7 separate regions of the Homo sapiens genome follow, and all the other regions are linked to region 4. Evidence: promoter capture Hi-C in 16 types of primary human blood cells and fetal thymus (Javierre and others, 2016). All regions are on one chromosome and are shown on one strand. Each heading gives the region's core, a stretch centred on a gene start or on the middle of the fragment in contact. The rest is flanking DNA. Distances are from core to core; before and after follow the strand shown. Region 1 overlaps KRT39 (keratin 39). Region 2 holds the start of KRTAP1-5 (keratin associated protein 1-5). Region 3 overlaps KRT40 (keratin 40). Region 4 holds the start of KRTAP17-1 (keratin associated protein 17-1). Region 5 overlaps LOC107985072 (a long non-coding RNA gene). Region 6 overlaps LOC105371777 (a long non-coding RNA gene). Region 7 overlaps LOC105371777 (a long non-coding RNA gene).

The links. The method cuts DNA at HindIII sites, captures the fragments that hold promoters and counts their contacts. A CHiCAGO score of 5 or more calls a contact.
Region 1: a fragment that was not itself captured here is called in contact with the fragment with the promoter of KRTAP17-1 in region 4 in 2 of 17 cell types (endothelial precursors and M0 macrophages); the score reaches 7.1 in endothelial precursors.
Region 2: the fragment with the promoter of KRTAP1-5 here is called in contact with the fragment with the promoter of KRTAP17-1 in region 4 in 3 of 17 cell types (M2 macrophages, erythroblasts and total B cells); the score reaches 9.0 in M2 macrophages.
Region 3: a fragment that was not itself captured here is called in contact with the fragment with the promoter of KRTAP17-1 in region 4 in 1 of 17 cell types (endothelial precursors); the score reaches 5.3 in endothelial precursors.
Region 5: a fragment that was not itself captured here is called in contact with the fragment with the promoter of KRTAP17-1 in region 4 in 5 of 17 cell types (naive B cells, total B cells, erythroblasts and 2 more); the score reaches 6.9 in naive B cells.
Region 6: a contact is called between a fragment that was not itself captured here and the fragment with the promoter of KRTAP17-1 in region 4, in 6 of 17 cell types (M2 macrophages, endothelial precursors, M0 macrophages and 3 more). The highest score is 9.1, in M2 macrophages.
Region 7: a contact is called between a fragment that was not itself captured here and the fragment with the promoter of KRTAP17-1 in region 4, in 8 of 17 cell types (M1 macrophages, M0 macrophages, M2 macrophages and 5 more). The highest score is 12.7, in M1 macrophages.

The regions. Positions count from the first base shown.
Region 1 is chr17:40,960,734-40,963,656 of GRCh38, forward strand. It overlaps KRT39 (keratin 39), which reads right to left. Exons shown (of 7, transcript NM_213656.4): 3 at 2,894-2,923; 4 at 1,669-1,830; 5 at 1,429-1,554. The region is part of intron 1 of LOC107985072 (a long non-coding RNA gene); the gene reads left to right. Among named protein-coding and RNA genes, the nearest start is that of KRT39, 4.8 kb to the right of the region's middle. The HindIII fragment of the contact is 5,264 bases long and covers 1-2,923 here.
Region 2 is chr17:41,025,837-41,028,536 of GRCh38, forward strand. KRTAP1-5 (keratin associated protein 1-5) reads right to left here and starts at 1,372. Exons shown (of 1, transcript NM_031957.2): 1 at 190-1,372. The coding sequence starts at 1,319. The coding sequence ends at 795. The HindIII fragment of the contact is 9,785 bases long and covers 1-2,700 here.
Region 3 is chr17:40,979,815-40,982,514 of GRCh38, forward strand. KRT40 (keratin 40) reads right to left here. Exons shown (of 7, transcript NM_001389244.1): 3 at 2,493-2,649; 4 at 1,176-1,337; 5 at 971-1,096. LOC107985072 (a long non-coding RNA gene) reads left to right here. Exons shown (of 4, transcript XR_001752886.2): 3 at 635-793; 4 at 2,514-2,700. Among named protein-coding and RNA genes, the nearest start is that of KRT40, 3.2 kb to the right of the region's middle. RefSeq lists an enhancer at 192-793. The HindIII fragment of the contact is 2,975 bases long and covers 1-2,700 here.
Region 4 is chr17:41,314,266-41,316,979 of GRCh38, forward strand. KRTAP17-1 (keratin associated protein 17-1) reads right to left here and starts at 1,445. Exons shown (of 1, transcript NM_031964.2): 1 at 647-1,445. The coding sequence starts at 1,385. The coding sequence ends at 1,068. The HindIII fragment of the contact is 4,540 bases long and covers 373-2,714 here.
Region 5 is chr17:40,938,567-40,941,447 of GRCh38, forward strand. The region is part of intron 1 of LOC107985072 (a long non-coding RNA gene); the gene reads left to right. Among named protein-coding and RNA genes, the nearest start is that of KRT23, 2.4 kb to the left of the region's middle. The HindIII fragment of the contact is 2,711 bases long and covers 170-2,880 here.
Region 6 is chr17:40,871,736-40,874,701 of GRCh38, forward strand. All of the region lies in intron 1 of LOC105371777 (a long non-coding RNA gene), which reads left to right. Among named protein-coding and RNA genes, the nearest start is that of KRT12, 6.0 kb to the left of the region's middle. The HindIII fragment of the contact is 2,363 bases long and covers 504-2,866 here.
Region 7 is chr17:40,892,236-40,894,935 of GRCh38, forward strand. The region is part of intron 1 of LOC105371777 (a long non-coding RNA gene); the gene reads left to right. Among named protein-coding and RNA genes, the nearest start is that of KRT20, 8.3 kb to the left of the region's middle. The HindIII fragment of the contact is 2,707 bases long and covers 1-2,658 here.

The sequences.
Region 1 (2,923 bases), core at 53-2,552, 350 kb before region 4:
AGTATTTGTTTCACTTTCTCTTTCTTGACCAACCAATAGTCTCGCACCACACTTTCCTACTTAGGAGAGAAAAAATAATAACTTAATGCACACCCAGGCATTAAAAATGCATTACTGGCTGGGCGCAGTGGCTCACGCCTATAATCCCAGCACTTTGGGAGGCCCAGGTGGGTGGATCACAAGGTCAGGAGTTCAAGACCAGCCTGGCCAAGATGGTGAAACCCCGTCTCTACTAAAAATACAAAAAATTAGCTGGGTGTTCTGGTGGGCACCTGTAATCCCAGCTACTTGGGAGGCTAAGGCAGAGAATTGCTTGAACCCGGGAGGTGGAGGTTGCAGTGACCCGAGATCGTGCCACTGCTGTCCAGTCTGGGCGACAGAGTGAGACTCCATCTCAAAAAGAAAAAAAAAAAAAAGCATTACCATGGCACTTCATTCAGTGAGTGTTCGTGTCTTAAAAAAGGAAGGAAGCAATGTTTTACCATATACAATTTATCCACCAGATCAATTCCTTTATATGTAAAATATGAAAGTTGAAACTGATGAGTAAATTTCATTCCTGCTCTATCATTCTGTAAGTCTATGGATAATGATGGGATTTTAGGTTTTAATAGCCTATTATTTGCATGATTATCCCAATTTTTATAGATGAGAAAACTGAGGTTCAAGTGGTTCAATATGTTGTCCAAGGTCACATGACTAGCTGGTGACAAAACCAGTGTGGGGCAAGGTCTTCCCAAAAGCCTTCACATCAGAGCATGTAAGCAATTCTCTACTTCAGAGAGGCATTATCATGAGACAGAATGATACTGGCTTTGGAATCTAAACTCTGGCTCAGACTCTTATTTCTTTTGTGACTTTGGATGAGTTTCTTAATGTCTCAGGATCTCAGTGTCTCTATAAAATAGGTGGGCTGAAACTTACCTTGGATTTGCTTGGGAAAATCACTTTAGCTCTTGGAGCCTCATCTGTAACATTCGTTAATAATTATGCCACCCCCCCTCTTAGGATTGCTTTATAAATCTCATGTGATAGCTTGTAAAAATGCTTTGCATATAATAAAATGCTCTCCCAGTGTTTCCCAAAGTGTACTTCATGAATCATTAATACCATGAGATGTTCTAAAAAAAGTGGGGGGATCCACAGTCAAATAAGTTTTGGAATGCTGAATACCATATACCCCCTTCCTGGAGATTCATGGTGTATATTAGCTTATTAATGGCTCACAGGAAGGCACCCTGTTTAACCTTGGTTTAGTGCAGCGTTTCGTAGACTTATTTGGCCACAAAGCTCTTTTTCAGCCATAGACGCTTTAACAAATGAGGAACTATTGTTCTGAAAGACACAGTTTGGGAAATACTGCAGCACACAGGTGTAAGGGACTGTTTCCATCTTTGCTGAGCTAGGCTTGGTCAGCTTGCTCAGTACCATTCGATGCTGGGCCTGCAGTTCAACCTCCAGAGTGTTCACACTGCGTCTCAGTTCTATGATCTCCTTTTGGCAGCATTGCTGCTGTTGAGAGCTGGTCACCACTTGTTGATTCAGCTCCTCTATCTGAAACACACAGCCAGAGACTGAGAATATTATGGGAGGAAAACATGACTTTGATTAAAGGGCCCTAGAAATGCAGCATCAGCTTATTGTTTTTGACTTTTCTATATCCCCCACCTGCGTGTTGAACCACTGTTCCACATCTTTGCGGTTTGTCTCCATGATGGGCTCATATTGACATCTCATTTCTTGTAGAACCTGGTTTAGGTCAGCAGAAGGGGCAGCAGTCACTTCAATGTCAAGTCTCTCCCCAAGCTGACACTGTAAAGAATTGATTTCCTAAGGAAAGAAAAAGACTGTGAAGTCACTTGGTGAACAGATAACCCCTTTGTGTTCTTGTTTCACTCTAACTGCTACGATTTAGCTTAATTGTGTCTAAAATATAGCCCACAACAAAGGAATACATGATTTACAGGTGTTATTGAGATGCTATAAAATGATTTAAGACTCTTTCAGGTAGGACTGTGTGTTTAAATGTGTGCAAAATTAAAAAAAAATGAGTAGCAAGACCAGAGTTCCAAAAAATTTAGATCATTTCCAGGGCTGGATAATGGGTGAAACAGGATAAAGGTGGAATTGATCATGAGAGATTATAGTCTCTATGGTGCAAATACGGGATTGTGCCAATATTGACTTGCACCAATATTGACTTGTACCAATGGGAGGTGGCAGAAGCCTGTATAGGGATGCCTACAAACATGGGAAGACTGTAAGGACAGAAAAATTGGGTTCCTTCTTGTAGAAAAGCTGGAGGGGATGTTGGAGGCCTTTCTTCCCCTTATGGCTCCAGATATTGTGTTGGAGCCAGTGGATTTGAAATACTACCTTGAACCAGTGCTAGTAGCAGTAGGTATTTTCAGGGCTAAACCAGAGTAGTACGTAGCAGTGGTTTGGCTCTGTGTCCCCACCCAAATCTCATCTCGAATTGTAATTCCCATAATTCCCATGTGTCAAGGGAGGGACCTAGTGGGAGGAGATTGGATCATGGGGGTGGTGTCCCCCATGCTGTTCTTAGGATAGTGAGTGAGTTCTCACAAGATCTGATAGTTTTATAAAGGGCTCTTCCCCCTTTGGTCTCTCTCTGTCTCCTGCTGCCAAGTGAGATGTGCCTGCTTCCCCTTAAGCCATGATTGTAAGTTTCCTGAGGCCTCCCCAGCCATGTGGAACTGTGACTCAGTTACACTTCTGTCCTTTATAAATTACCTACTCTCAGTTATTTCTTTATAGCAGTGTGAGAACGAACTAATACAAGCGGGCACACCCTTTGTCAGGTGCAACTCAAAGGAACTGATGCTACTTTTAGGGACTTAGCTTGTGATTACTCTATTGGTCTTTGTCTCACCTCTTTGTGGTTGTTCTTGAGGCAAAGGAG
Region 2 (2,700 bases), core at 122-2,621, 290 kb before region 4:
TAGTAGAGACAGGGTTTCACCATGTTGCCCAGGCTGGTCTCAAACTCGTGAGCTCAGGTAATCCACTCACCTCAGCCTCCCAAAATGCTAGGATTACAGGTGTGAACCACTGCTCTTGGCCTCAAGTAGACATTCTTGAATTATAAGCAGTTAAACCAGGTGATGTACAAGTGAAAACAAAGACAATGGTTTCTTTGCCTAGTATATAATATTTATTAAGAAATGACAGAAGACATTGTATCACAGATATAACTGAAATATCCAGCAGGCAAGATCATTATGATCCAAAAACCAAGGGATGGATCAGATGTTAAAATGTGGAAAGTCCAGCCTACTTCTTAGAAGCTGAATGTTGGGTGATGAGCTTCCATTCTCTCTGGTGACTTGAGGAATGTCACTTGGCTATAATTTGGTGTCTTTGATGTTGCAAAAAATTTTAGGTAAACAAGATAAAATAGATTATAAAGCATGGAAACATTAGACTTGTGGATAGTTCTCATGGATAAATTCCACAACATGTCAGTAATTTTTAATCCTGCAGAAATATCAGAAATAGTATATCCCAAGCAAATTGATGATCAGCAGGTGGCTTTGTAGCATTTCTGTGTCCCCAGTGAAGGGTCAAGGTATTCATTGTAGAATGGAATCAGATAGAATTGTGAGCTCATATACTTAGTAGTCTCCATCACAAGCAATGCAAAGTCTGAGAACTTGTTAGTGGTCCAGAGGTGGTCAAGGGATGAACAGTTCAGAGACACTGTGACCTAGGCAATTGAAAATAAGCAAACTGGCTTTCAGCAAGTGGGCTCACAGCAGCAGACTGGGCGGCAGCAGGACTGTCCACAGTAGGACGGGCGGCAGCAGGAGGCCTGGGCATGGTGCAGTTGGCAGCAGGATGGGGGCGTGCAGCTCACCACACAGCAGGGGGGTAGGTAGGTGCCCTCCACACGACTGTCTGGGCGGCACCACCTGATACGGGTGCTCACAGCTCCACTGCTGCCCTCCTGGCCATAGCTGATGCCACCACCAATGCCACAGCCAGTTCCGCAGGAGCTGATCTGGCAGCAGCTTGGCTGGCAGCAGCTGGTCTCACAGCAGCTTGGCTGGCAGCAGCTGGTCTCACAGCAGCTTGGCTGGCAGCAACTGGAGCTGCAGGTCCCACTGGTTGAGAAGCTGGGAAATCCGCAGAAGCTAGTCTGGCAGCTGCGTGGCTGGCAGCAGCTGGTCTCACAGCAGCTTGGCTGGCAGCAGCTGGAGCCACAGGTCCCACTGATGGAGAAGCTGGGATATCCACAGAAGCTGGTCTGGCAGCAGGTCATGGTGTCAGAAGTTGGGTTAAGAGTTAGGTTGCTTGGAGGAGTTTCTGAGGTTTGGTGGTGACTTCCACGTTGGTCCTTTTATATATCTGAACCAGCTGCTGTTTACAAAATTGTTAACATATTTTCTTTGTTTTTGTTTAAATTTGTTACTCCGTGGATCTCTGATTGGCTTATGTTGAAATACTTGTGACACATTATGAGCAATAGTTTAGAAATTACTGTTTTATAGTTTCTTCTGGACTCCTCATATCAGTCCTTTGCTCTTTGGAATATGTTTGTGGTTTCCCATGTTCAAAGAGTACTTCCATTTTAGTCCAAATGAATGCTCTCATTTTACATAATAGTTATTCCACGTGACAATCTATCCATACCTCTAAGGCTAAGAGTAATAATTGTGCTGTTATATTTAACTATTATTTTTTCCTCCTAGATATATAGACTAAATTTTATTGAATTTTGGATATCTGGATATCTACTGAACTGAAGGAATACCTTTGGTCATACATAATTCGCAGATTTCACCTTTTTTTGTTCCAATGTCTTATTGAATTACCGATTATAGTTCCTTTGATTTCAACCAATTTGGAATGTGTGACTATTATTCCTGTTCCAGACCAGAAATCTGTTCTTGGGAACCAAACTGACATAGTATTTAGGAAGGTATCCAGCAGAGTCCTTAGTTTGTGGTAGAACCTTAATAAATGTTTACTGAATCTGATTCAATAAATGTTTATTGAATAGGTGGAGTAAAAGGCTTGATTCATGGATATCAATACCACTCAAACATGATTAAAGAGAACTTTCAAGCTGTAGTACTTCTCATGAAAGAGTCTTGTTATTTGCTGTAAAGAGACTAGGAAATGTGTTTTTTGGTTTATTTTATTTTATTTTTTGGATTTAGTAGTGGAACCGGGCTCGGGAAAAAATATCTAGGAGTTATGACACTTTGAAAAATGTACTGCCATCTACTTTATTCCTCTTGGAAATTGCATAATTTTGTGTGTAATCCATCATTGCTACCAATTAAATATAGAGGTAAGTTCTGGGAGCTTGTAAATAATGTGGAAAACGTGTTTCTTTCTATATTTGCATCCTATTGTATTTTGTGTATTACACTCTAATGCCTAATGAAGAATTTAAAAATTAAATGGTAAAATATGTTTTGTTTTGTTCTAGGTTGTGTTAATTTTTTTTTTTGAGACAGAGTCTTGCTTGTTGCCCAGGCTGGAGTGCAGTGGCGTGATCTTGGCTCACTGCAAGCTCTGCCTCCCAGGTTCACGCCATACTCCTGCCTCAGCCTCCCAAGTAGCTGGGACTGCAGGCACCCACGACCACACCTGACTAATTTTTTTTTTGTATTTTTAGTAAAGACTGGGTTTCA
Region 3 (2,700 bases), core at 50-2,549, 330 kb before region 4:
TTTTCATGTTGGACAGCAGAGAAGTGTGACTACAGTTAACAACAATACACTGTGCATTTCAAAATAGCTAGATGGGAGGACTTGAAATGCTCCCAACACATAGAAATGATAAATACTTGAGGTGATGGATGCTCTAAATATCCTGACTTGATCATTACACATTCTATGCATGTAACAAAATATCACATCTACGTAAAAAAAATTTACGCATATTATATATCAATAAAAATAAATTTAAAAAGAGAGAGAGAAGAGACTCTGGGATTCAACTGGCTGAACTCAGCTTCCAAGTTTGCCTCTTAGAATTGCATCCTTTGCAAGTTACTTAATCTGAGTCTCAGTTTTCCTTATCTGTGTCATGGGATAAAGGTATCTATCCGGTAAAGTTACTGTGAGCCTTAAATCAGCATAGTGCCTCTCACAGGATGAATGCTCAGCTATTGTTCTTCTAGGTGTTCTCCGCAGGGCCTAATGACATGCACACAGTGGTGCTTGACCAGAACTGGTTCATGTCATCTTGAACGCATGGTGTTCCTGTTGCTTGAGTGGGGGGTGGTGCAGTGAAGGATAAGGTTGAAGTGTAGATCCTGGGAAACTGTAGGATGAAATGTTTGAAAATGATTCTTTGTTTTAGATATAACAGTGAGCCTGGAAAACTGGCCTGAATCAAATGAGAATTAAAACCTGCCAGAATGCTTAAGCGACCATGGCCCGGAGGTTTCTCTCCAGCTCTGCTTCTCCCTCCCTGTCTCTGGAGGCTGCTGCAGCATCAGACTCAAGCCCAGGAGTGAAGGTAAGGCATCTTAGAGGACAAGCTGTGGACCTGTCACTTCTGCTTCTATTAATAGCTGGGTAAACGGCAGTACTCGGGAAAGGCAAGGAAATGTGATCCTCGGATATGGAAGAGGGCTTAACATCTCAGGGCCTGACTTATCAGTGACACAACGGACACTGCCTTTGCCTCACGCACCAGGCTTTGCTGTGCTTGGAGCTCAATTTCCAGAGCACTGGCTGTGCGTTTCAGTTCCAAGATCTCCATCTGGCAGCCCTGCAGCTGCTCCGCGCTGGACAGTTGCTGCTGATTCAGCTCTTCTGTCTGAAACACAGACACCATTAGAGAATTCAAAAAAGGCAGAAGTCTGTAAGCCTGACATTTTTTCAATCTGGGTACTGACCTGAACAGCCAACCATTCTTCAGCTTCTCTGCGATTGTTGGCAAGCACCGTTTCACACTGACAGCGCATCTCATCCAGGACCCTGTTGAGGTCAAGGGTGGGGGCAGTGTCCAGCTCCACACTGAGGCGGTCGCCAAGCTGTTCACGAAGCAAGTTGACTTCCTGAAAGTGGGATGGTGTAAAGAATGTCACAGAATGGTGGGGAAAAATCCATTTGACATCCAATGGCATTCTACTTCTGTTTTTTGGAGCAGTGGGTAAAAGTGTGAGATTTTGATTCAGATTGCCTGGGCTGAATCTCTTTTCACCACTTAGAAGGGCCTCAGTTTCTTCGTCTGTAAAATGGACATAATAATTGGACATTTTTCCAGAAAGTTATTGTGAGATCTAGAAGAGTCAATCTACACATAATTAACTTATAAAAGTTAATTATGACACATAGTAAGGTGTCAATAAATGTTAGCTATGATTGTCATCAACAAACGTTCAAAGAGCAAATGTACTTTGTTACATCATTCAGCTTTTCATTTTCTAGCTTTATCAATATATCAGTGGCTGTATATTTTATGATTTTTAGAAGTTTATAAATGCGGAATATTTAAAAACACTGGTCCAGATAGTGCACAGTCTTTATCCCTTTTTTGAAATGGACTTCACAGTCTGTTCCTCAGCCTGATTTTCATACCCTGTGGACTGGAGCTAGGGGTGGCATAAAGCCTCCAAAGGAAGCCATTTGTGAAGTTACCTCCTCCACAAAGGCAAGGGCAGGAGAAGAGTTTGATTCCTTCCTCTGGCGCTGTCTAGGGGTTATTTCACACCTTAAATCAGAGACACACTGGAATGATCAGGTTGAATAGTAATAATGCCTCGAGTAGTTTTTGTTTGTTTGTTTGTTTGTTTGTTTTTTGAGATGGAGTCTCGCCCTGTCACCCAGGCTGGAGTGCAGTGGTAAGATCTCGGCTCACTGCAACCTCCGCCTCCTGAGTTCAAGTGATTCTCCTGCCTCAGCCTCCCGAGTAGCTAGGACTACAGGCGCCTGCCACCATGCCCAGCTAATTTTTGTATTTTTAGTAGAGATGAGGTTTCATCATATTGGTCAGGCTGGTCTCGAACTCCTGACCTTGTGATCCTCCTGCCTCAGCCTCCCAAAGTGCTTGGATTACAGGTGTGAGCCACCATGCCTGGCCCTGCCTCAAGTAGTTTTATTCCAGCTTAAACAACATCTGCCCAAATTCGATTTACAAACATCAACAGATCATCTGTCAATGTAAGTACGTTACTCTCGGAGTCCTTCAGCGGAGTTGCCACTTTCCTTACCTCTTCATGGTTTTTCTTAAGGCAAAGGAGATCTTCCTTCAGAGACTCCACATGGGCCTCCAGATCAGATTTGCACAGGGTCAGTTCCTCCAGGATCCCATGCAGGCTGCTGATGTCAGCCTCTAACAGCTGGCGAAGGGACAGTTCACTCTCGTACCTTTCACAGCAAAAGAGAAATCCAACGCTTACTTTGCTGAACGCTGTGCAA
Region 4 (2,714 bases), core at 195-2,694:
GCTGGAAGAAGGAACTGTACTGCGCAGAACATCCTCAGAAACTGTGAATTCACTAGCTTTGCCATTAGAAATCCTTTCCATTCAGAACCAATCTTGTTTTACCAAAGCCTCCTTTCCGACTTTGCCAGAAAGTTCTGATCAAGCCTGAAGCCCTCCTGCAGAACCATCCTAGGAGAGCTGTAGTGCAGAAGAAAGCCATGCCCCTCAATCACCATTAAATGTGGCCAGCATCAGCATTCACCCAGGAGCTTTTAAAAATGCAGGTCCCTAGGGACTCTAGGCCCTAGAGCTAACGGGTAAAATCTCCAGTGATAAAACCCAATGATCTATATTTTTAAAAGCTTTTCAAGTGAATCTCATGCAGCACACGGAAGCTTCCGTCTAGATCTATGGTTCTCAAACTTCAGTGCATAAGAATTATCTAAGGTTCTTGTTAAAAACACAGATTCCCAGGCCACACTTTGGTGGATTCTGATTCTGTATGTCTTAGGGAGGGCCTCAGAGTCTCCAGTTTTAACAAGCTCCCAGGTGATTCCGACGCAGGTGATCCAAAAACCACAATTCAAAAACCCTAAGGCAGATGCCAGAGTGAATTTTTCTAACCCAGTCCTCAGCAGGGAGGTCAAGGAAGAGGCAAGAGAACTAATTAGGTTATGCCAGCATGCTCAAATTTATTAAGAGGCTCACAAAGAAGATGGACCTTTTTTGCATCTCAAAGCTGCAGAAAGCCAGGGCGGAGGATCAGTCCCAAAGACACCTTGAAGAAGAGGATGTCTTATAGTACAAGACATTGAACTTCATGTGAATAAGTAAAGTATTGGGGATTCACCCTTGAGCTTGGGATCACTTAGTTGTGACCGAGTTTTAATGTTTCATCAGAGTATGGCTCTTGTTCTCGGTGCCTTGAAATACCAGAGAAGGTGTTGGAGAACAAGCCCTCCTCTACAAATCACAGAAAGACAAGACACTGTCTTGGGGGTATGGAAGGTTCTGGACACGAGGGGCTGTCCCCCTGGAGCAGATGGAGGCTTTCGGTGGGACTGCATCAGTGGTGGAGGGAAAGGTCTTCATTTTGTGTCGCATATAGGTGTGGGCTGGCAGCACACAGGCCCACAGCACCCGGAGCCGCAGCAACTGGACCCACAGCAACTGGATCCACAGCAGCCACCCCCGCAGCCTCCGCAGCCTCCACAGCCTCCGCAGCCAGATCCACAGCAAGACGATCCGCAGCAGCTGCCCCCGCAGCCAGAGCCCCCGCAGCCAGAGCCCCCACAGCCACAGCAGGAGCCGCAGCAGCCACAGCAGCCCGGCTGACAGCAGCACTCTTCACAGCAGTTTTGCTCCTGGGTGCAGCAGGTGAAGCAGTCCCCCGGGCAGCACCCCATGGTCCGGGCCCGTCAGCTCGCAGGTCGGTAACGCAGCCGGAGTTCCCCACGACTGACGGTGGCCAGCCATCTGGATGGCAGCTTTTATATCCCCTCACCCAGGCATGAGGGACGGGATGTTTTCTTTGTTATTATTTATGCAAGTTTCCATAAGACCGGCTCATTAACTGGCTGTTTATTTTCCAGTCCTGAGTACCTCAACTCATAAAAACGCCCCACTCCTGCCAACTGCTGTTTATCCAGAGGGTAAAAATACATCTTCGAAAAGACCTGTCATCATGGCCAAGCATCTGCCAGCTGTCATTAGCCCAGGTTGGAGATGGGAAGGGGAAGCCGGCCACAGCTTCTGGCTCTGGAATGAGGGGCTTGCCTTCCACATCTTCGCAGGTTGGCGATGGACCCCATCTTCCATGGATGCTAGTCCTGGAAAGGCAGACCGGCAACAGCCGAATGCTCTGTTCCCCCTGACACCAGTGGAGGCTACTGAGAACGCCTGGTCACGTGGCTCCTCCCAGGTGGAAATGGCATCCTCATCCCGGTTCATGTGAGCCAGGCAAATGTTTGTGTCTGTGTGTGGTATGGGGAGTGTGCCACACGTTTAGGCTTGGCCGGTGAGCATCAGTCATGAGTAATAACTGCCCTGTGAAACCGAGAGAGACTCATCGTAAAGCTGCAAGAAGCTGGTAAGGCATGGTCTGTCTCGGCGGCAAGGTGAGCTGAATATTCGCACTTCTCTCTAAATAGGTGGGAAGAACTGAGATCAGAACCCTCTACCCACCCCCACTCCAGCCCCAGGCCTTTCCTTGACCGGGGAAGGAAGAGATGCAGGAGGAGGAAGAAGAGGAGAAGGGGAGGAAGAAAGGAAAGAAGAAAAGAAAGAAGAAAGCAGGAAGGAGATCAGTAAATATCCAAAATGCTACATTAAAATGGGAATGTAACGCACTTTTTTTAAGAGTTCGAACCTTATAGACCATCTGGCAGAAGGAGAAATTAGAATACAAAATACCCAGAGTGTCATCCCAAGGAATAAAATGCCTTTGCAAGGAGTCTAAAATCTACAGATGGTTCAGGTCCATGTGTAAATTTTGAGATGGGTCAAAATTTCTGTCTCTTTCTTGGACTTTGGTACCTTGTTCTCCTCTTGGAGTGCCCATGGCAGCCCTGGAGCTGGAATACAACATCTAGTAGGGGTAGAGGACAGAAGATAGGGGTGGGGTGGGAATGGAAGGAGGGATGGGAGTAAGGATCTGGATCAAGGGATCTAGTCCTTCCCTTTTCATTTCCCTTTCTTTGTAAGATGGGCTAGAAGTAAGACAGCCTCTAAGAAGG
Region 5 (2,881 bases), core at 275-2,774, 380 kb before region 4:
TTAACCATCCATGAAGGCCAATCTTTTCCAATTACAAATAAAGCCACCCAAAAGCACACCAGCTCTGCTCCTCCCAGTCTTACAACAAAACCTTATCAGGGAAGAGTCTCTGAATATTTTTTATTTCACTGTGCACGAGCTGGAAAAATGAGCCTCCAAGCCTCAGGGAAGCTTGGAGAGTGCTTAGAAAGAGTGCCGACAGTCACTTACATCTCAGATATGAGAAAAAGACAAAAGAGACAAGTGATAAAAATAGAGCAAATGAGGGAACTAGAGAGACTTGTTTGGCGAGTGGTGGCAACCAGTGTTCTGTGGATGTGGACGGTTCCTGGTCATCAAAGTTATGGTCAGCTCTGGTTCCTGTTCGCCTGGACCCAGACTTACCAAGGAAGAAAACATTTACCTTTAGCATGTGCAAGGGCCGGGCTGCACTGCCTTTTTCTAAATTCTCTCACCAGAATCTACAATGAAATTAATGCTTCTCTAATTATTTCAGGCATGTCTGAGTGGCAGTGACTTATCAACCCCATAGATTTGGCCACTGTCTCATTTTATGTCCATGTGTGGGAGTTTTGATTTATAGGACTTATCCTTGAGCAAAAGATTTCTTGTGTCATAGCAGGACCAGGGCCAGGAAAAACTGGTGGTGAGATCTGAGAGCACTGGGGAGAAATAGTCTCTTCTAGTACTGTTATATGATGGTTTCCCATAACTTCTTTTTTTTTTTTTCTCAAGATGGAGTTTTGCTCTGTCACCCAGGCTGGAGTGCAATGGCGCAATCTTGACTCACTGCAACCTCCGCCTCCTGGGTTCAAGCGATTCTCCTGCCTCAGCCTCCCGAGTAGCTAGGATTACAGGTGCGCACCACCATGCCCAGCTAATTTTTTGTATTTTTAGTAGAGACGGGGTTTCACCATGTTGGCCAGGCTGGTCTTGAACTCCTGACCTCATGATCTGCCTGCCTTGGCCTCCCAAAGTGCTGGGATTACAGGCATGAGCCACCCTGCCCAGCCAATTTTCCATAACTTCTTTTTTTTTTTTTTGAGACAGAGTCTCGCCCTGTCGCCCAGGCTGGAGTGCAGTGATGTGATCGTGGCTCACTGCAACCTCCACCTCCCGGGTTCAAGCGATTCTTCTGCCTCAGCCTCCCGAGTAGCCGGGACCACAGGTGCGTGCCACCACGCCCGGCTAATCTTTGTAGTTTTTAGTAGAGACGGGGTTTTACCATGTTGGCCAGGCAGATCTTGAACTTCTGACTTTGTGATCCACCCACCTCGGCCTCCCAAAGTGCTGGGATTATAGGCATGAGCCACCGCACCCGGCCCTGGTTTTCCATAACTTCTAATGTGTAGAGTTCCATTGGATTTTAAAAGAAATGATGCTTTTTTAAAAGCATCATTTTAAAAGCATTAAAAGAAATGATACATGCTTATTATACAAAATCAAGTGATACATGATGGTACAGGAAAAAATATTTAAAAATTCTACCACACACACACAACGTTTGGTGACATTTGGTGAACATCCTTTCAGATACTATGTGTATGTATTGGAAGACAAAAGAATGGCTAGAATAATTGGAAAAATGGGCTCCTGCGACTTATTCCATTTTAGAAAAACTTAAGTCAATTAACACATTTTAATTGGCAAATAAGGAACTAAAATGAATTCACTTTAGTGACATAGTTTTTCTAGAATTTAAAAACGTTCATCACATTCTTTTAAATTTTACATTTTTAAGAAGGATAAAATGGCCTGTAAATGCCAGGATTTTTGGAATCGCAGGACTGGAAAGAAAAGCAACGCTGAGCCACTTGTTGCAGATTTTTGCTTTTAGGGAGGACAACGGCAGAGTGCTGAGCTTGTTTTTGAAGTATTCTTAAAGAACGCGAGGGATGAAGCCTCCAACTGCTTCCTCAGTAAATGGCCAACATTTACTGATCCTTTTGGTTCACAAGCATTTCACTTGCAATATGGTTTCAGGATTTCTTTTGGTATTTCTGTAGAGTGCAAATTGTTCAGAATCAAAATCATTCTGCTTTGCATGATTTTCTGGCTGAAACATTTGTAGTTTTCACATTTGATTCATCTTTCTGATGAACTCAGTTGTCGTCTTGAAAGGGAGTGGGTACTTTGTAAGACAGCTCAGCTGTTGAGTGAATGCATGGGGTTGCATGTGGGTGTGTTGGGGTCAGAAGGGAGCCCTGTCAGAAGGTAGCTGTCATGAACTGGGTACACCGTCTGTTTGTGTGCCTTTTCAAGACAACCATTCCATTAATGAAGCATTTTATAGGCACCCGTTCTTTATAGTAGAGAAAGATGGCCAAAATGACTCTCAAATACATTTTTACTACACATGATATTTCAGCACAGATGAGTAGTAGGTCTTCAGGCAAAATTGCTATGCTATTATCCTATGAGTTGGAAGGTTACATAAGAAGATTAGACATTTATAGAAATAAAACATGCCCATTAAAAGTGGGCAAAGGACATGAACAGACACTATATACAGATACTATTTGTAAGCGACTCAAGTTGGCTGTTGTTTTCTTCCTCATTTGAAATACTGTATTGAAGACTTCATAACTCACATCATCTCTCTGTTGGCCCCTTTTTCCTGGACAAATAGAAATATGAGAAAACGGTCTGAGGATCATGCTGTAACAAAGTGTTTTATATCAGCTTTACTTGACCACTCATGCTTATGCCCTTGTAGCATCTTATCCATTGGGAAAATGTTCCCAGCTGAAAACAGTCAATTGCAGCTGCAATTTTAAACATGGAATGCAATAGATAGACTTTAAGAAGTTAGTAAAATCTCTAAAACTATATGCAAAAATTTCTCTGCATGCTTATATGCTTGCTTTTCTGAGGAATAGAA
Region 6 (2,966 bases), core at 435-2,934, 440 kb before region 4:
GTATGGGCTGAGACCTAGAGAATGACTTTTCATGGCTTATAAGCAACAACATGACACATGAAATTCTGTAAACACACAGGCAAATGCGGTTTTCATTTTAGCTTTGACCTGTAACTACATCTCCAGAGATCTTATAAAGCACAAGTTAAACTTGCACTCCCCACACAAGAACTTGATGTTATGGTTGTTAACTATTATTCACTCCCAAGTGTCCCCCAAGACAGAGAGATTCCATTTTACTGCCATAGAAATGAAAACAGAAGCAAATAAAATGTCAAAAGAAATGTGCCAAGTTCAAAATTGTACCTCAGTGATTTGATCACATAATACGGGAATATGATTAAGTTGAATTTTTGAACTTGGAATTGATTTTGTGCTGAAAGGTACACTTTCCAACTCTAATGCCTATGGTAAAATTTAAATAATATTGCTCAATCTCTAAAAATTATGTTTATATATTATTTGTTTATGTTTCTATACATATAACATATTATCCTAGACTAAGCTTGTTAGGTAGGTACTACATCTAATTTATTTTTTATCCTGAGTCCTAGCCTAGTGTTTCGCTGAACTTTATCACTGCACTCCTTGAATGATTTCATTTGAAAGAAGTTAAGTCTTAATGTGTTTGAATGTGTCATTTGAAATTCATTTCATTTGAAAATGACTGTGCCCTAATTTACTGGTATGCTTTGACCAATATTTATTCTGAATTCAGTTATGAATGGGGAGCAACTTCAGAAGTTGAAAAGGGAAATATTTCTTCTTCAGTGGCTTTTTTTTTTTTAAGTGGGAGGCTAAGTTAAATAATCAAGACTCTGCTTTAGAGGTTTTAGAAGTGAAAATAATTTTCTTTGACAGCCACATTAATGTATAAGGCAGTGGTGATGTAAAAAACAATAAACAATCTTGGGCTTGTTGGCAGAGTGATTGCATAAGTTGAGGCAGAGAGGAAAATGATTATAGCCAGGGCAAACTGTTCAAAAGAATTATATCTTCCATTTTTGTAGAGTTTAGGAAATGTTCAAAATAGAGAAAATTAGTTATGTGGTTTTTACAAGTCTTTAGATTTTTATTGAGTAAATCATACCCTCATCTTTTCATGTCAGGTTGGTTTCTGTCCTGGTCTTTGCAGGGTTTTCTACCTGAGTTTTTTCCCGTAAGACAGACCTGTCATTTTCTGCAACTCGCTGATCCCTTGATCTGTAACATCTTTCACTTTGGATAACATTATAAAATCCTGTGAGTGACTGAGAGAATTTTGGGTTGCCTACATTTTATGTATTGTGCTTTTGAGATGAGGGTTAAACAAGGACCCTAAGGGGTATGAGTGAGATTGACTTCTGGGCTCCAGAGATCAATGGTTCTTGAAAGCAGGGGAGAATTTTGAAAGTGGTAGGAGACAGGAAGATGATAAAATAATACCCTGATGAGAGGAATCTTGGAAATGAGCCTAGGGGAGAGAAAACAGAGATGTTTGAAAGAGAATTCAAAAATAAAAATCACTACTAATGCTTTAAGTTGGAATTGTTACTTGGGGGTCTAATCAGGTACCTGAGGCTGATCCTGATGCATGTGGATGAGAACAGAGTGTCTGAGGAGGTCACTGGCCATGTTTTGATTTTGTATCACTCCATGTCATTCTCCTTTTTAGATGATTCAGAACTCTGGGTAGAAATAATCTCCAGAGCTCAGAAAAAATAGTTATTTCCATCCTAACCTCACCTCTAGGGGCTCTCTCTGAGTTTGATAGCTTCACTTCTGCACTGACAATTTCATATAAAATGAAAAAATACATTGATGATAATTCTAATGTGTGATAAAGACTTCTCTCTGGATCTGTTTACCTGTCAGAAATAGGATTATGTCATTCTAGTTCTTAGCTCATATCAGAAATATAGATAGATACAAAGATTAATGCTTCACTTTCACACAGTAACTGCTGGCAGAACTGGAGGTAGAACTCCACCATCTGGTCCACATGTATGTAGCTCTCACTCACTTCTTTGAAAGATTGCTTGGAAGAAACTAGAGACAGACCAAAGAAGCAAGAGGAAGAAAAAATCTTCATTTTTCTGATCTAAAAATAACAATTCTACTTCTTTTAACAGGTAGTTAAAAGAGGACCATCCTAAATTAAGAATAACAATCCTACCTCTTTTAACACAGTGTCATCATTGCCATATAACAGTGGTCAGGCCTAATCAGTTACAAACCCATCTGCATAGGTTTCTTATTAATCAGATTCACAGTCTGGTATTTGCATGTCAAAGTTTCAGACTATTCTGGAATGTGTCTCAGTAGGTGAAAAAGAATTCACTTTTAAATATTCTTAACATCTTTAAATGCAACTTACTAGCTAGCGTGACTTGGAAGAAAATTAAGAAAAAAATGAGTGAAATCTTTTCACTTTGGAAAAGAAGGCAATGAGAATAGGTGAGAATACCTTTTCTGACAAAAGTTGTACTGAATCAAGTCATGTGTGATGTTAGCCAGCAAAGCTGGACATTTGCCACAATTGGCTGTTGTGTCTGGCTGATGAAAATGACAATTAGAAAACAACAAAATAACTGCGGATAGGCAAGTGCCTATTTCAACTGTGAATCATGTATTGCTTTGTTATGTAATTAGTTGCTTATGAGGGTGTCCTGGTTTTAGAGAAACAGCGCTGAGGTTCAGTCTCGCTCTACTACTTGGTAACTGCTTGACTTTGGGAAAGTCTTTATCTCATGTCTTCATATGAGTCCTCATTTATCCTCATATGTAAAGTGGGGGTAACATAATAAGGTTGAACCTTATTATATATGCTATATAATAGCATATAAAATTGCTATTTCTGAAAGTCAGAAATTATCATATATTGGAAAGCTTTAAAAAAATCTTTATTCTTTCAATTTAAAATAATGAATCAAGTGCCTGCTATGTGTTAGATATTATATTACATCTTAGGAATTCAAAGTGGTACC
Region 7 (2,700 bases), core at 55-2,554, 420 kb before region 4:
AATTTGTCACCAAGACTAATTCTAGTTCCTACCTCTAGAATCATAGTAAAGAAGTTACTGACAATTTAAAAATAATATTAGCACCTGTTTCTAGCCATCATTAGTTCATGAACGTTGAGGTCCAGTCTCAAACACCTACCTAAAAATGCAAATCTGATTATTTCACTTCTGTAAAAAACTGACAACAGTATGTAGTCAAGTCCAATATACAGCTCTCAAAGATCTAGCTCCTGCCTACCTTTTTAGACCCCCTGGTCACCCCTCCATGCCTCAGATGGCACACTCCAGTAACACACACCACTGATTCCTCCATTCCATGCTTCTGTATACTCCATCCCCTTCTCTTCTTCTGCATGTCATCTCTTCCAGGAAGCCATCCCTGTGCTCTCAAATTCCTTCCCTCCAGGATGACCAACTGTCCTGGTTTGCCCAGGACACAGAGCTTTCTGCAATGTGAGACTTTCAGAGTTAAAACTGGGACAGTCAGTCCCAGGACAGTTGGTCACCCCGTTCATCTCTCCTGTGCATGTCTCTCTTTCTTGGGTATAGTGTGTGCATGGGCTTTGGCCCTGATTCCTTTGTGGAATGAGTGGGTGTGGGACATGGGGAATAGGATGAGATGAGAATGACTGGGTGGTGATAGTGGTACCCCATGGCAAGGGGGACACTGGGACAGGACTGGGAGATGGTTTGGGAGATGGTTTACTTAACATAATGACCTCCAGTTCCATCCATGTTGTTGCAAATGACAGAATCTCATTGCAAAGGGAAACATGGTGTGTTTGTGGAAATGCCAAGTTTGTAGCACTTGTGTCAGATTTAGGTGGAGGAGACCTGGATGAAGAGGAAGACTGTTGAGTATTCTGATTTGGAGACCAGGCTGGGAGTGCATAATAAGGTACTGATAAGGTACGTAGGAAAGGTTTTCTCCAGTATTATTGATTTTTTTTTTTTTGAGACAGAATCTTGCGCTGTTGCCCAGGCCAGAGTGCAATGGCATGATCTTGGCCCACTGCAACCTCCGCCTCCTGGATTCAAGCGATTCTTCTGCCTCAGCTTCCCAAGTAGCTGGGATTACAGGCACCTGCCACCATGCCCATCTAAGTTTTATATATATATATATTTTTTTTGAGATGGAGTTTTGCTCTTGTTGCCCAGGCTGGAGTGCAATGGTGCAATCTCGGCTCACTGCAACCTCTGCCTCCCAGGTTCAAGCGATTCTCCTACCTCAGCCTCCTGAGTAGCTGGGATTACAGGTATGTGCCACCATACCCGGCTAATTTTTTGTATATTTAGTAGAGACGGGGTTTCTCCATGGTGGTCAGGCTGGTCTCAAACTCCTGACCTCAGGTGATCTGCCCAGCTCCGCCTCCCAAAGTGCTGGGATTACAGGTGTGAGCCACCACGCCTGGCCTAATTTTTGTATTTTTTAGTAGAGATGGGGTTTCACCATGTTGGTCAGTCTCGAACTCCTGACCTCAGGTGATCCACCTACCTCGGCCTCCCAAAGTGCTGGTATTACAAGTGTGAGCCACCATGCCCGGTGCCAGTCTTGATGATTCTTATGTTTATCCCTCATATATAAATTACCACCATGATTCTAGTTCACTCAGTCTTCCAAAACTCCAGAGTCAAATCTGCACAGACAGACCACAGGAAACAGCATCTCCTGGGAGAGGCTGCCATCTTGCATAGCCCTTGCTGCTGCCTGGAGGCTTCTTCTCTCTAAACTGCTGCATTATCACATCATTGAGCGTTTCATTCATTGTGATAACTGAAGACTGTAGAATTTATGGTGCTTGTGAAAGCTCTAGAAAATATTGCCTAGCTATAGGCTATAATATTGTTAGCTAACTAAATGGTAATAACCAATTAGCATTGAACTTTTTTAGACTATGTTCTAAGGGAGAAATCATCAGTGATTTAATTTTCTGATATGCTTTTATGTTACTTGGACAACCCAAACTTACTATTTTTGAAAACAAGTAAGCAAGTGACAAATCACTCACCATGTGTTTTTATTTTTCATGAGGCTTGTTTCTAAATACAAAGAACCATATAGGCTATCATATCTGAAAGAGCCCTTGAAAGTCATGTAGGCCATCCTCATTTTACAAATGAAAAGCTGAGGCATATGCAGATTAATGACTTGCCTATAGCAACGGTACAAATATAGAAAGTTGAGATTAAGCTACATAATATTTGCTCTGCAAATTGATTTTTAGTGCTTTTGCATGACCCAGGAAAACTGTCTTGGCAACAACATCCTGATGTATAAACAAAACTCTCATCAACGAAATTACTGCTTAAAAGGTGAATATAAGGTCTATACTCAATACATTTTTGTTTCTACCTGGGGCTAGAGACCTCCTCTTTCAATATGGTCCTTCCCGTGCTACTAATCACACAAAATTGAAACAGGTGCTCTAAGATACGGCGGCGATCATTGGCTCCAGAATGCTCCTAGAGCAAGGCACGATGTATATGGATGCATCAGACTAGATGAAGAGATGTATTATTAATTCGTTTTTCAGAATGCAAACGGCAGATGTGTTCACATTTCTGCTCGGTGGGGTATTTCATTACTTTTTAATGTGCACACACTTAAGTAAAAAGGGAAAAACAAACCATACAAAGCATCCGACTGGTTAAAAGAGAAGCTTCATATTGAAAATTTGTTGCAGAGTACAGGATTGAGCT